Linked DNA regions of Homo sapiens: regions 2 and 3 are each linked to region 1. The links are contacts of gene promoters, found by promoter capture Hi-C in blood cells and fetal thymus (Javierre and others, 2016). All regions are on one chromosome and are shown on one strand. Each heading gives the region's core, a stretch centred on a gene start or on the middle of the fragment in contact. The rest is flanking DNA. Distances are from core to core; before and after follow the strand shown.

Region 1 (2,752 bases), core at 175-2,674:
TGATGTGGTGAGCTGGCAGGGATGATAGGTGAGAGTACACAGTGTACTTTTTCTAGTTACGTTTCGCCTCATCACTGCTATAGGGGCCTTTCTAAACGCCTGCCACACCAGGAGAGAGACCTACAGACCCAAGCTTACCCGTTTCTGGGCAGCCTCCAGGGGACAGGTAGAAACAGAACAGATGGCCTGTTCTCCAGTATCTAGACTCAGAAGCAAGATACTTCTAACCACTCCACGAATGAAGCAAACACACGTACCTCTGGCTCAGCCAGGGAGTCACAGTCACTACCCTTCCCCTGGTTTCGGCCCCAGCCCTGTCCAGGCGTGGATGCTGCACTCTCCTCGCTGTAAACCGTCCACCCTCCCAACCCAAAGCAAAGAGCTTCCAACAGAGGTGGGAGCATTAGCGCCGTACCCGCCCTTCCCTCTCGATCCCGGCCAGAAAACTCCACTTCCCGGATTCCCGGCCACTCTCTCCCGCCCCCTCCCCGGGCGATCCAGCTAGCGCAGTCCAGATGCCAGCTTAGTGCCCAGTCCAGCTGCGAACCCCCACACTCCGAGCCAGGACCCAGTAAGAGATCCCAGCTTCCTCCCTCTTCCAGGACTGGGGTTCCCCAGATTCTGGACGCACCCCTCAAACATGCTAGGGCTGAAAAAAGTCCTACCCCGCCCCCCAGCCACGCCGCCAGCCTCCAGCCCAGCCCCGGAGGGGCCTCCTCTCCAGAGGCTAAAAGGGACCATGAATGGTTGCCACAGTAGCCTTCCCCCGCACCGCGCAAGGGTCCTCAGACCCCCGAGGAGGACAGACCCGCGTGGCCCCGAAGGGATACCTCCCTCTCCTCCCGGAAGCCAGCAGGTCCCCGCAGGGAGTGTGCTCTCAGAGGGTCCCCGGGAATCTGGGGAAGACTTGGGGGGTGGCTGGATTCGGGTGCAGCCCCTCCCGGGGCGGGCGGAGGTCGGCGCTGCGGCGCGTCCCCGGGGGGCACTCACGATGGTCACGCTGGCTTTGCGCAGGTCGCGGTTCTCCTCCTGCAGTGCCTTGCACTTCAGTTTGTAGGTCTCCAGCTCTATCTTCAGCACCTTGTTCTCTTGCTGCAGCGAGGCCAGGCGGTTGGTGAGCTCCTCCAGGCGGAACGGCGAGATGACAATGCCCCCCGACTTCCCACCGCCGCCGCCTCCCCCGCCGCCACCGCCGCCGCCCGAGGTCGACGAGCAGGACGACTGCATGGCGGCCGAGCTGCTGCTGTTGCCCCCCGCCCCGTCCGTGTCGCTCTCGCTGGCGCTGTCCGCCATGGCCGCGGCGGGCTGGGGAAAGGAGGAGGAGCAGCAGGGAGGCGGCGGCGACGAAGGCCGGGCTGCGAATGAGTGGGCGCCGGGCGAGCACAGGGGAGCGCCGAGCTGAGCGCCTGGCACCAGGGCGCAGACTCGGAGCGGCGGCGAGAGAAAGAGAGGGCGCTTCCCGCTGCCAAGGGACCTCCTCTGCCAGAGAACAGAGACCCCGCCCGGGCTTGGGCAGTATTGCACTGGGGCTCGCTCCAGCCGGGCTGGGCGCGCTCCCTAGGCCGCCCAGCAAAGCTGGCTGAAAGCTCCGGGACCCGCCCGCCGCCGTCTGGTGACCACGGGCGGGCTGGGAACGCGCAGGCACTGCGGGTGCGGGAAAGCCAAGGACTGCCCCCGCACCACCAGCTCGCCAGCCACACGTGTTCCAAGGGAGGGCCTCCGAGCCCCCTGATCTAAGCCCACGGCCGCCCAGCCTCTTCCGGGCTCGCGCCCGCCCCGAGAAAAAGGAAACCTGATGCCCCACCAGCCTCGCAGGTGCCGGGGACACGTGGAAAGGTCAGCCGGGCTCCGGCACCCATCCTCTACCGTGTTGTGGCCCCATCTTCCGCCGACTGTGTGTGCGCGTGTCTCCCTCTATCTGTTTCACACATACACGCAGTTTTATATTCTCAAAAGCAAGGTGTTTTTGACTAGGAAGGCTTGGATAAACCTAAGAGAACAAAGTTCCTCTACAAGAGGCCGAGGAGGATGAAACAACAGCAGCCACAGGTTAACCTTGTTAAGTAAGAATTTGCAGGAGAGACACACATCTCCTTTAATAACCTCATAAACCACACTGCGCTCAATTGTTTAAACAAGGTGCAACTGTTTTTTTCTTTTTCTCTTTGCATTTTGCAAACATTTCCAGCACATGTCTCGTAGTAGGATTAAGACAGTAACATTTACCTAATGAAGAAAAAAAAAAAGGAAGGCGAAACACTTTTAGTAGAAGATTGAAACACCTCTTTAAGTGCCAATTTTCCAAAGTAACTGCGGACATAACATTATGCTATACAAATAGTAATGATTGAGTGGGAGTGCAACATCACCCGTCTTTGCTATCCTCTTGCTCACTCCTAGAAAACTTTAGCATGTAAAAATAAAACAGTAATTACTGTAATGCGGTCTAATTCATGGTTCTAGCTTTGCAGTTTAAGAAATTAAAAATCAAAAACTTTTATTCCCCCTTCCTCTTCCCAAAGAAAGGCTTGCAGGAAATTGGCCCAGCAGGTGAGATGATTCTAAACACTTTGCCCTGTTGACACAAAACAGCTTTCACTTATGTATAAAAATTGGAAAGTGAAACTGACCAGACTAGTTTTATTACCCACGCTTAGTTAACATTACAACAAACACATGGTAATAGAAAATAGAAAAAAAAGTGTAATTTTTTTTTCTGTTGGGTTGAACTTTCTGAAAGATTTCTAAAGTG
Region 2 (2,752 bases), core at 124-2,623, 3.6 Mb after region 1:
CCTGAAATAAAAAGTCTTGACATGAATTAATAAGCGAAAAGAACCTAACCCAAGAGTAGAAAGTAGCTTCTGAGCTTGTTTCTTAAATAATGAAATATTACCCAATTTATTGACTGAGAACTGAAAATAATTTAGGATAATCTGTTGTGTCCTTTGATTGTCTTCCATGCAAGTCAGAGTATTTCCTAAACATATTATTTAGCAGTGCCTCATATCACCCTTGAAAGGCAAGAGACAGACTACAGTATTATTACCCCCTTTTTATCACAGGGAAACTGAGGAACAAGAAGACAAAATTACAGTATGGTCACAAAAGCCATCATATTTTCTAGGACTTTAATTAAAGGCTCCAAGCCTACATTTCATCTTTTATTCTTCGCACCATCTGAATACTAGAATTATCTTTTACTATCGTCTTAACTGGAAAAAATAAAAATATCTAAACTTTAACATCATTTTCTCAATTTGGTACTGTCACAAAAAAAAAAAAAAAACAGTTTTAAAAGTCTGCCCTTGAAATGATATTTGCAAGAACAGCAAGGTGTAAGCAGTAACCCAACCTCCAAAAAATACAGTTGTAAATCTTACAGCTGTAATATAGTTGTAAATCTTAAGACAGGTCAGGAATCCTAGACCCAGCCTTTACTTTGAACATCTGGCAGGCCTCAGGGAAATAATGGAGATTCGTGTCTGTAAACAGTCTTTGCAGATGCTCTGATGAAAAGGTGCCCTAAGAGGCCCAGAACAGTGGTATCACTGCACCCACTACTGCAAACATGAAATCCTCCTCTGTCCCTCCCTGCATTGCACCACGAGACTCGTGGCACACACGGAGGCCTGTGCAAGAACCTCTCGACGATTCCTTTAAAATGTGGTAATATAAGGACGCCTTTGGTGCTGGGCCTCCGTAAACACTGAGGATACCGGATGTGGCCAGGCACACCTCAAAGTCTTGGCTCTCCAAAACCAGGGCCTGGTCGAGAGTTTTATTGGACACCGAGTTCCTGCGAATATCTCACTTTTCACACAGGCACTGCCAATCCCTACCCTCCAGTACCCTTCCTCAGCCTCCTGCCCCACTCTCGCCGCGAGTGTGGGCGTCCCAAAGAGCTAAGGAGGGTAAGGTTGGTTAGAGCGCAGGGGCCAAGGCCGCGGCAGCGAGGCCGTCCAGCGCGGGCTAGGATCCCGCCAGCCCAGCCCTGGAGCCCGGCCGCCTGGCCCCAGCCCTGGCCCGGGCCAACGCGCCGCCGCCACCGCCTATCAGCGGAGCGCAGGGGCGGGGTGCTGTCCGGACTAGGCTGCCGGGCCGGCGGGCGGGGGCGGGCGGGGACGGGCGGGGGACCGACCTCTGCGCAGCCCAGGCCGCCGCGCGCACACACCGGGCCCGGCTCCTGAGGGCGCCAGCGCGGCCCCGGGGAGCGCGAGGAGCCGGCGAAGCGCGCGGCCTGCCGTTGGCGGCCTGGTCCGCAGCGCCCTGCGCCCACCCGCCCCGGACGTGGGGCCCAAGCCCCCGTGAAGATGGTGTCCTGGATGATCTCCAGAGCCGTGGTGTAAGTGCCTCTCACTGCGCCCTGCAGCCGGCGCGAGGCCCAGGGGAGCTGTGGGAAGGGGAAGGAGCCGAGAGGAAAGGGAAGGCCTGGGCCTGGGCGGGGACGGGGTAGCCCGGCCTCGGGCCTGCCGAGGGTCTGGGGGAGCCCTCGGCTTCCTCACCTTGGTCCACGTCGCTGCGGAGCTCCCTGCGACGGCCGAGGGCCTAGCTGCGGCGACTGCGGCTGCGACGGCGGCGGCGGCTGTGGCGCTGCTCGGCTGCGTGCGGTGCGGCGCGGCGCCCCTGCTCCGGCGGCGCTGGGTGGGCAGGCGCTCAGGGCAGGCGGCGCGCGCTCCCCGCTCCTGCTCCCCGCGCAGCGCGGCACCGCCCTGCGGGCCCGGGAGCGGCGCGCCTCGCAGCTGCTCCCTGCGCAGGCTCCGCAGACGCCGAGCGCGGGAGGCTCCGCGATCCTCCCGAGGATGCGACGGCAGTGCCGAGCCTTTGTATCCCGCGGCTGATGCGTTGCGGTGTCTCTCTTGGCGGCTGATTGCCATTCGGTCACGTGTGGTAGGAGGAGAGATTTGTCTAAAAACCGGAGACCGCTCCCAGCCCAGGATCCCTGGGAAGGGTCCTAGTTTTCCCAAGATTTGCAGCTTACCGAGAAAGGTGACACCGGCTGCTCGCCCAGATCCCCGAATTCGGCCCTGTCTCGGCGGAAATATTTGCTAAGTGATTGAAAGGCTGCAGGTGCCTGTTGCCTTTGTTCAAATTATGGGTTCATTTCATTGTTCTCCTACCAACAAGTGCTACAGGTCTGTAAGAAAAAGAAATTCCTTGAGTTGGTGGTGTTAATCGTGTAAATGTATTTGAATACAGTTTAAACTGATTTTCTCTCATCTCCATTTTACCCCTCTCCCCGATTAAAAAAAAAGTCACCAAGTAAACAATGACGTAGTTACAGCTAGGGCCTATGAATTCATTATTCACCTCTGTAGTAGTGTTATCTCAGAAGGTTTCATAAAGGTATATGAAAAAATGTTTATGTGAGGGGGCAGGCTTCTCTGATAAGCTTTAGAATTTAGGAAAAATAACATTACCAGACTTTTTGTTAAAAGGAGCTAGATTTTCTGAGTTTGGGGTTTATTTTGTTTGGAAGTGAATTACTAGCCCTATTTAATCAGATTTGCAGCACAGCATTCAAAATTTTTCATTTGATTAAATCGC
Region 3 (2,752 bases), core at 75-2,574, 3.2 Mb after region 1:
GTCTCAAACTCCTGACCTCAGATGATCCACCCGCCTTGGCCTCCGCAAGTGTTGGGATCACAGGCATGAGCCACCATGCCCGATTTTTTTTTTTTTTTTTTTTTGAGACAAGATCTCACTCTGTTGCCCGGACTGGAGTGCAGTGGTGCGATCACAGGTCACTGCAGCCTCCATTACCCAGGCTCAAGTGATTGTCCTACCTCAGCCTCCTCAGTAGCTGGGACTACTACTACAGGTGCGAGCGCCACACCCGGCTAATTTTTGTATTTTTTGTAGAGATGGGTTTTCACCATATTGCCCAGGCTTGTCTCAAACTCTTGAGCTCGAGTGATCTGCCTGCTTTGGCCTCCTAAAGTGCTGGGATTATAGGCATGAGCCACAGCACCCAGCCACTTTTTACCTTTTTTAAGTGATGTAAAAAACACGTGAAGTTTACCTTCTTAATTATTTTTAAGTGTACAGTTTAGTAGTGTTAAGTATATTCGCATGGTTGTGCAACAAATGTCCAGAATTTTTTCATCTTGCAAAACTGAAACTATGCCGTTTGAATACCTACTCCCCATTTCCCCCTCCCCTGTTCAATGATGAGTTGTTCCACCATTCAACTTTCCTGTTTTTAAGAATTTGACTACTTTAGATACCCAATAAGTCGATTTGTATAGTATTTGTCCTTTTATGACTGGCTTATTTTATTCAGTCTAATGTCCTCACAGTTCATCCATGTTGTAGTATGTGTCAGAATTATCTTCCCTTTTTTTTTTTTTTTGAGACACAGTCTCGCTCTGTCACCCAGGCTGGAGTGGAGTGGCGCGATCTCGGCTCACTGCAAGCTCTGCCTTCCGGGTTCACGCTATTCTCCTGCCTCAGCCTCCTGAGTAGCTGGGACAACAGGTGCCCCCCACCACGCCTGGCTAATTTTTTTTGTATTTTTAGTAGAGACGGGGTTTCACCGTGTTAGCCAAGATGGTCTCGATCTCCTGACCTTGTGATTTGCCTGCCTCGGCCTCCAAAAGTGCTAGGATTACAGGCGTGAGCCACCGCGCCCGGCCAGAATTACCTTACTTTTAAAGACAGTACCTTTCCATTGTGTGTGTATACTGCATTTATCCATCTATCTGTTGATGGACATCTGGATTGCTTTCACCTTTTGGCTGTTGTGAATAATGCTGTTATGAATATGGGTGTACAATGCTTTTTGCTTTTTTGTGAAGCTGTGAAGCTTTGCTAAATCGTGTGTGTTTGTTACTGAGGAAAATCGTTACATGAGGTAGAAAACTTTAGCTGATTATCTCTGCCTTTCTCCTTGCTAGTTAAATGTATAATCTTATGTAAGTTACACGACCTCCCCATCAGTCTTTTGGGCCTCCTTATGTAAGAGAGGAAAACACATTAACAAAGTCGTAGTTAAAGCAGCTGAAATAATGTATATTAAAGCTTTTTTTTTTTTTTTTTTTTTTTGAGATGGAGTTTCACTGTTTTCACCCAGGCTGGAGAGCAATGGCATGATCTTGCCTCATTGCAACCTCTGCCTCCCAGGTTCAAGCAGTTCTCCTGCCTCAGCCTCCTGAGTAGCTGGGATTACAGGCGCCCGCAGAGACGGTGTTTCACCCTGTTAGCCAGGATGGTCTCGATCTCCTGACCTCATGATCTGCCCGCCTCGGCCTCCCAAAGTGTTGGGATTACAGGCGTGAGCCACTGCGCCCAGCTAATTTTTGTATTTCTAGTAGAGATGGGGTTTCACCATGTTGGCCAGGCTGGTCTTGAACTCCTGACCTCAGATGATCCGCCTGCCTCAGCCTCCCAAAGTGCTGGGATTACAGCCATGAGCCACTGTGCCTGGACTTAAAGCTCTTTTGAAATTATTAAAGTGTAAGGAGGCCAGTGACTGCTTATTTAATAAGTTTTCCTTCAATTACATTATTTGCTGTTAGAACTTCTGATTTTTTTGACTTTGTTCTTTTGATGAGATATCTTTAAAACAATCTTTGTAATATTAGATGTTGGTATCATGAATTCATCAACTGCAATGTCCAAATTTTTTATTTTAAAAACAAATAGTAACTTTAATGTTGAAAGAATGAGATGATAGAAGAGAAGCTTGGATTTTACTACATGATGAGTGATTTCCTGATTATAGTTTTTAGACTATACAGATTAGTGAAAGTATCTACAAAATAGCTCTTGTTTTGAAAGGAGCTTGTTAAAAATCAAGAAAATAGACATTTTGAATAACAATCTATGATTGTAACTCTTGGTTTATCTCCAAAGAGTGGAAGAATGTGAGTCACTGAAGGAGTTAAGTGCCTGGTGTTAACCTTGAGAGGGCTTATGGTAGAAGTGAAAGAAGTTGCCAGTTCCTTTCAGATGCTGCAGTTCTAGGCTCTACCCATTACATTTCCCCAGCTACAGATAGAGCTGTAATAGTGATTTGATATGTGGCAACAAAACAGTATTATTTATCTTCTTAAAAGGTAGTTGCTTTTTGAAAGAAATCATGTTTTATTTTATGATCCAGAGGAACTTAGGGATGTTTGTCTTCTAGGCTCATCAACAGAGCAGACGAGCAGACCGTTTATTAGCTGCAGGCAAATACGAAGAGGCTATTTCTTGTCACAAAAAGGCTGCAGGTGAGTATTCTTATTAAGTACTCAGTGTAAAACTGAAGAGCAGAAAGTCACAATAGTAATAATGTGTGTTGCTTTTCATATGCAAGACTGATACTGCTGACCCACCAGAATATCAGCTTTGATTA

What was found. The method cuts DNA at HindIII sites, captures the fragments that hold promoters and counts their contacts. A CHiCAGO score of 5 or more calls a contact.
Region 2: a contact is called between the fragment with the promoter of REEP3 here and the fragment with the promoter of CCDC6 in region 1, in 2 of 17 cell types (fetal thymus and non-activated CD4 T cells). The highest score is 8.2, in fetal thymus.
Region 3: a contact is called between a fragment that was not itself captured here and the fragment with the promoter of CCDC6 in region 1, in 1 of 17 cell types (activated CD4 T cells). The highest score is 5.8, in activated CD4 T cells.

Annotation. Positions count from the first base shown.
Region 1 is chr10:59,905,132-59,907,883 of GRCh38, forward strand. It overlaps CCDC6 (coiled-coil domain containing 6), which reads right to left and starts at 1,425. Exons shown (of 9, transcript NM_005436.5): 1 at 991-1,425. The coding sequence starts at 1,293. RefSeq lists an enhancer at 138-367 and silencers at 888-1,167, 1,198-1,537, 1,720-2,014. The HindIII fragment of the contact is 3,234 bases long and covers 132-2,752 here.
Region 2 is chr10:63,520,028-63,522,779 of GRCh38, forward strand. It overlaps REEP3 (receptor accessory protein 3), which reads left to right and starts at 1,374. Exons shown (of 8, transcript NM_001001330.3): 1 at 1,374-1,550. The coding sequence starts at 1,519. It also overlaps a transcript of JMJD1C not described here. RefSeq lists an enhancer at 570-619 and a silencer at 1,010-2,059. The HindIII fragment of the contact is 3,716 bases long and covers 1-2,595 here.
Region 3 is chr10:63,143,667-63,146,418 of GRCh38, forward strand. It overlaps NRBF2 (nuclear receptor binding factor 2), which reads left to right. Exons shown (of 4, transcript NM_030759.5): 2 at 2,543-2,627. Among named protein-coding and RNA genes, the nearest start is that of NRBF2, 12 kb to the left of the region's middle. The HindIII fragment of the contact is 215 bases long and covers 1,218-1,432 here.